Linked DNA regions of Homo sapiens: region 1 is linked to region 2. Evidence: promoter capture Hi-C in human tissues and cell types (Jung and others, 2019). All regions are on one chromosome and are shown on one strand. Each heading gives the region's core, a stretch centred on a gene start or on the middle of the fragment in contact. The rest is flanking DNA. Distances are from core to core; before and after follow the strand shown. Region 1 has its middle 69 kb from the start of PRDM13. Region 2 holds the start of PRDM13 (PR/SET domain 13).

Region 1 (3,010 bases), core at 385-2,884, 69 kb before region 2:
GCAGCAAAGCTTATGTGATATGTGTACACACATATACCAAAGAGACAAAATCACCTTAGGGCTTGGTAAACTGAAAAGAATACAGAAGTCCCTAAGTGGCAGCCTGAGATAACTGCAGCAATGGCCATTTCCAGGAGTACTGCAGATGAAGGTTTATGTTTCCAGGTCCAAAAACCCCAGTAAGAGAGTGAAGGCCAGAGTCCCCAGGCTTGTTTCCCTAGTCTAGACTACACATGGATGATTTCTACTACCTGCAGGACCAGTCTGTCCTCTCAGCACACTTTGCTTTCTGCCATTATAACTCTGATTAACACAGAGAGCAATTTTCTGTTTATTTGTCTCTATCCCATACCAGTCCATGAGCATCATGAGAACAGAGACCACATCTGTCTTTTTGCTATTGTACTTCAAGCACAGACTACAACAATGCATGGCACATAGTAAGTACTTAATAATTATTTGTTTAATTAATCTATTATGGCCATCTTCCAAGAGGAAGATGCCCCATCTCTTCTCCTCAGCTACCCAGCCATGCAACAAAACACAACAGGTCCTAGAAATAGGCCCTTTAGAGTTCATTTCAGATCAACAACATTTGTTAAAGTGCTGTGTACACTGAAATCACAGTTGAAGCTGCCATGATCCCTGTGCCTGTCCAACAGTTACTTTTAGAAGTGTCTATTTGCACAAGATGGCCAAATAGGAACAGCTCCAGTCTACAGCTCCCAATGTGAGCAACACAGAAGATGGGTGATTTCTGCATTTCCAACTGAGGTACTGGGTTCATCTCACTGGGGCTTGTTGGACAGTGGGTGCAGGACAGTGGGTGCAGCCCACCGAGCATAAGCCAAAGCAGGGCAAGGCATCACCTCACCCAGGAAGCACAAGGGCTCAGGGAATTCCCTTTCCTAGCCAAGGGAAGCTGTGACAGATGGCACCTGGAAAATTGGGTCACTCCCACCACAATACTGTGCTTTTCCAACAGTCTTAGCAAACGGCACAACAGGAGATTATATCCTGCGCATGGCTTGGAGGGTCCCATGCCCACGGAGCCTCACTCATTGCTAGCACAGCAGTCTGAGATGGAACTACAAGGCAGCAACAAGGCTGGGGGAGGGGCGCCCACCATTGCCGAGGCTTGAGTAAGTAAACAAAGCGTCCAGGAAGCTCAAACTGGGTAGAGCCCACAGCAGCTCAAGGAGGCCTGCCTGCCTCTGTAGACTCCACCTCTGGGGGCAGGGCATAGCCGAACAAGAGGCAGCAGAAACCACTGCAGACTTAAATGTCCCTGTCTGACAGCTTTGAAGAGAGCAGTGGTTTTCCCAGCACTGAGCTTGAGATCTGAGAATGGCCAGACTGCCTCCTGAAGTGGGTCCCTGACCCCCAAATAGGCTAACTGGGAGGCACCCCCCAGTAGGGGCAGACTAACACCTCACATGGCCGGGTACCCCTCTGAGACAAAGCTTCCAGAGGAACGATCAGGCAGCAACATTTGCTGTTCAGCAATATTCTCTGTTCTGCAGCCTCAGCTGCTGATACCCAGGAAAACAGGGTCCGGAGTGGACCTCCAGCAAACTCCAACAGACCTGCAGCTGAGGGTCCTGACTGTTAGAAGGAAAACTAAAAAACAGAAAGGACTTCCACACCAAAACCCATCTGTCGATCACCATCATCAAAGACCAAAGGTAGATAAAACCACAAAGATGGGGCAAAACAGAGCAGAAAAGCTGAAAATTCTAAAAATCAGAGCACCTCTCCCCCTCCAAAGGAACACAGCTCCTCACCAGCAACGGAACAAAGCTGGATGGAGAAGGACTTTGACAAGTTGAGAGAAGAAGGCTTCAGATGATCAAACTTCTCCAAGCTAAAGGAGGAAGTTTAAACCCATTGCAAAGAAGCTAAAAACCTTGAAAACAGATTAGACGAATGGATACCTAGAATAACCAGGGTAGAGAAGTCCTTAAATGACCTGATGGAGCTGAAAACCACGGCACGAGAACTATGTGACGAATGCACAAGCTTCAGTAGCCGATTCGATCAACTGGAAGAAATAGTATCAGTGATTGAAGATCAAATGAATGAAATGAAGCAAGAAGAGAAGTTTAGAGAAAAAAGAGTAAAAAGAAATGAACAAAGCCTCCAAGAAATATGGGACTATGTGAAAAGACCAAATCTACATCTGATTGCTGTACCTGAAAGTGACGAGGAGAATGAAACCAAGTTGGAAAACATTCTGCAGGATATTAACCAGGAGAACTTCCCCAACCTAGCAAGGCAGGCCAACATTCAAATTCAGAAAATACAGAGAACACCACAGAGATACTCCTTGAGAAGAGCAACTCCAAGACACATAATTGTCAGATTCACCAAAGTTGAAATGAAGGAAAAAATGTTAAGGGCAGCCAGAGAAAAAGGTCAGGTTACCCACAAAGGGAAGCCCATCAGACTAACAGTGGATCTCTCGGCAGAAACTCTACAAGCCAGAAGAGAGCGGGGGCCAATAGTCAACATTCTTAAAGAAAAGAATTTTCAACCCAGCGTTTCATATCCAGCCAAACTAAGCTTCATAAGTGAAGGAGAAATAAAATCCTTCACAGATAAGCAAATGCTGAAAGATTTTGTCACCACCAGGCCTGCCCTACAAGAGCTCCTGAAGGAAGCACTAAACATGGAAAGGAACAACTGGTACCAGCCACTGCAAAAACATGCCAAATTGTAAAGACCATCGATGCTAGGAAGAAACTGTGAGCAAAATAACAACTAACAAGCAAAATAACCAGCTAACATCATAATGACAGGATCAAATTCACACATAACAATATCAACCTGAAATGTAAATGAGCTAAATGCTCCAATTAAAAGACACTACTGGCAAATTGGAAAAAGAGTCCAAGACCCATCACTGTGCTGTATTCAGGAGACCCATCTCACATGCAGAGACACACATAGGCTCAAAATAAAGGGATGGAGGAAGATCTACCAAGCAAATGGAAAACAAAAAAAAAGGCAG
Region 2 (3,155 bases), core at 656-3,155:
CAACACAAGCAGTGGTCGTTCTCCCCCGCACCTTGGCCAGGCCCACAACCCAAACAGAAAGTTTATCCTCCACCCCAACCCAACACAGGAAAGTGGTTGTTTTTGGTTTGGCCAGACCACTATGGGCTACTGGGAGGAGGAGAATTCCTTAGGACCTTGCTTCGGGGAGGGAGAAAGAGGAAAGTCTACCTATGCTAACAGTACTCCCACTTCCCTGCGCCCCACCTTGACGACACGGGGAGGGGAGAGGGGTGTTGAGAGCATCCTCCCTGAGTGCTTAGGCACATCTTGTACCAAGTTGTCCCCTACCCCAGCTCTCCCATTTGCAGTTCTGAGAGCAGCCGTAACACCACGGTAGAGACATTTCTAGGTCAGTCCCAGGGCCCAGAGCGTACCCCCGACAAACAAACAAAAAAATTATCTCATGCCTCCTGTATTCTGTGTGCATCGCACCTAGTTGCCTGTGAGCCCTGCAGCTAAAGTCTCGGAACAAAGCCCAAGCGGGGAAAAGCTTGCCCGCAGCTGGCAGGCCATTTAAAAGCAATTAAAACGCGTTTAAAGAGGAATGCGCGGTGGGCACCAAACCCCGCTTTAGACTGTAGTGGGGGGCGTGATTGCAGGAGGAGCGAGGTGCAAGTCCCGCTGGCTGGACACCGGAGCTTTTTACTAGAAAGCTCCAAGCAAGGCAAGCTAAAGCCAAGGAAGCCAAAGTCCTTTCTTCTACCCCAGACTTCTGCCTTCATTTCCCGGTCGCTGTTTGCCGACCTTTGGCTCCTGGGACGCCCCCAAAGCGGGCGAGTGCTATAAGTCTCTCTGGTCAGGGGTCGCGACGGTGTGTGGAGTGTGGGAGTCAAAGCTAGTGGTTTGGCCCTGGCGCCTCCCGGTTGGGCCTCTGGACTCTCAGAGCCCCGCTGCAGACGCTCTGACCCTGTGCCCCGCGCGAATGGGCGCGCCTCGCCCTTGGAGCCCGCGTCAGAGCCAGTACCTTGCTCATCCTCTCTCCATATGCCGCATACCCACAAGCCGACATCGGCAAGGGAAAAAAAAATATCTGAGGAGGTTCTAGGAACTGAGAGCCTCCCAAAGATTTTTTTTTTCAGGAAAAAAAATTACTTTAAGGCGAAATTAGGCCTCAAATTAACATATTGAAGGGCAGAAGGGAAGAAAGGGTCTCGATGCCCTGAGCCCCCAGAAAGAGGGTGCTTTTGCAGAGAGAGCTGCGGACAGCGTGCGGGGGTGGGCTTCTGGCTTCTGACTGAGGAGACCCGAGAGCGCAGGGGAAAACACAAGCTGCGAATGGTCCCGGCACCTACAGCGCTCAGTGCACCCCACCCAGGGCTGTCGCCTCTCGGCCACATCCTCTCCTCTCAGCCCGACCCCGTCCAGCTCTCACAGTTAAAGAGGCTACTTGCTCAGAATAATAGGAGTCCCCTTCCACCCGGCAGAATTAGCAGGTAACGACTCAATCACTCCCTTCCTCCACTTTCTCTCGTACCCCTTTCCCGGGTCAGGGCACTGAGAGGCGAATGGCAGTGGGCAGAGGTCTGAATGGTCAATACCTTTTTCTTAGGCCCGGGCTCCCTGCGGTCTGACAGGTACTTGCCCAGCTTGAAGGTACCAGGCACCGGTCCGAGGCGCAAGCCGGCCGGGATGCAGCAGTCGGCACTCACGCTGGTGGCTGGCGCTCTGGCGGCTCCGTGCATTGTTGCCGCCGCCACCAGGCAGGCGCTCGGGTGCTCCAGGTCCTTGGAAGGGCGCGAGTGACAGAGCTGGAGCTGCGCGCTAGCCAGAGAGCCGCGCCCCGACGTGCGTCCTCCGCCCGCGGAGTGACGCGGGCGGGCATGCACTGCGCCTTTTCAATCGGGGCGGGAGCCTTTTGGCACCGCTAGCGCAAGGGCGCGGAGTTTGGTGAGAGAGTTGCGCTGCGAAGCAGCTGCAGAGTCCCACCCGAGAGGGTCACATGGAGTGGTTCCCTCAGCCCCCTGCATAATCGAGGCCGCTGAATGGCTAGCACACAATGGTCCAGGCGACCTTCCCATTCCTAAAAATCCAATTTGTCAAGGGCGAAGAAAAGGCACTGGTGAATCAAAGGTCCGGCGGGACCATTAATCCTCAGCATGGGGTATTGTCCTCCAGACAGTTACGATATTTTAAGTGACAAATCCACTGTATAATTTCTCCATAAATTTTACTTCCTTTTATTGTTCCCCGACAAACCAGTTTTGGGAAATAAGTGACTACTTTAAGTCTACTTGGCTGATTCCTTTGAGCCTTGATCTACTTCAAAGATTTTTAATTCTCTCCCCTTGGCTTTATTGTAAAGGAGATTAAACAAAGAGATGGAGACTGTTTGGAGGACTTGTTAACTACTATTGATTTCTGGCGTGTGCCATACAGAAATTAGGCAGGTACTTGATGGGAAAACACCAGAAAATACCTACACTTTTTAAATAACAACCATATTACCATTTCAGGGGATTGGGTTCAGGCCAGTCGTCTATTCAGAACCGCTTTAATTCTCACTTCTGTCCCATTTCGTCCGAAAATATGATGAAGCCTCCAGACCAAGTTGAGAAGGGGAGGTCAACTGCTCATCACTTTTCTCGGGCACACCCCGGGCCTGCACTTTCTCTGGAGAATGGGAAACAGCCCCAGAACCAACAGTTTCGAATGGGGATCCTGCGCCCCGGTCCGCAGCCCAGGGTTGAAGAGGAAGAAGTTCTACCAGTGGGTTATTGATCACGTCCCCTAGAAGATGTCCTTGGACTAACTTCCCTAAAACCAGCAACCTGGACTTTTCTATTAAAAAAAAAACAGTAAACAAAAACGAAAATCACCGCAATCTGTTAAAGGTTGTAGAGAAGAGGGGCGAGGTGGGCGTTTGGGACAACTCTTTCTTACACCTACTTTGTGAACTAACAAGACGTTGTACTTCAGAGTTAAACCGGAGAGCTACCCGTTTTCTTTTAGGGAAGCCTCCAATTGGCGTGAGAACATTTATTTTCATAAATAGTAGCCAAGTAATCAAGTTCATCAGATATTTGTGATTTCTGCCGGCACCTGCCGCGTGCTGCTAGTTCTGAGCACAGCTCCCCAAATCCTATGCAGCCAGCACCGGAGCCCGATGCAGTTCTTCCAAGAGAGGCCTGAGTGGT

What was found. The method cuts DNA at HindIII sites, captures the fragments that hold promoters and counts their contacts. A contact is called where the count stands out against the background at its distance.
Region 1: a contact is called between a fragment that was not itself captured here and the fragment with the promoter of PRDM13 in region 2, in 3 of the 25 tissues and cell types used here (bladder, small bowel and spleen).

What each region holds. Positions count from the first base shown.
Region 1 is chr6:99,674,617-99,677,626 of GRCh38, reverse strand. No RefSeq gene overlaps it. Among named protein-coding and RNA genes, the nearest start is that of PRDM13, 69 kb to the right of the region's middle. The HindIII fragment of the contact is 3,759 bases long and covers 1-3,010 here.
Region 2 is chr6:99,605,583-99,608,737 of GRCh38, reverse strand. PRDM13 (PR/SET domain 13) reads right to left here and starts at 1,905. Exons shown (of 4, transcript NM_021620.4): 1 at 1,560-1,905. The coding sequence starts at 1,703. The HindIII fragment of the contact is 8,735 bases long and covers 1-3,155 here.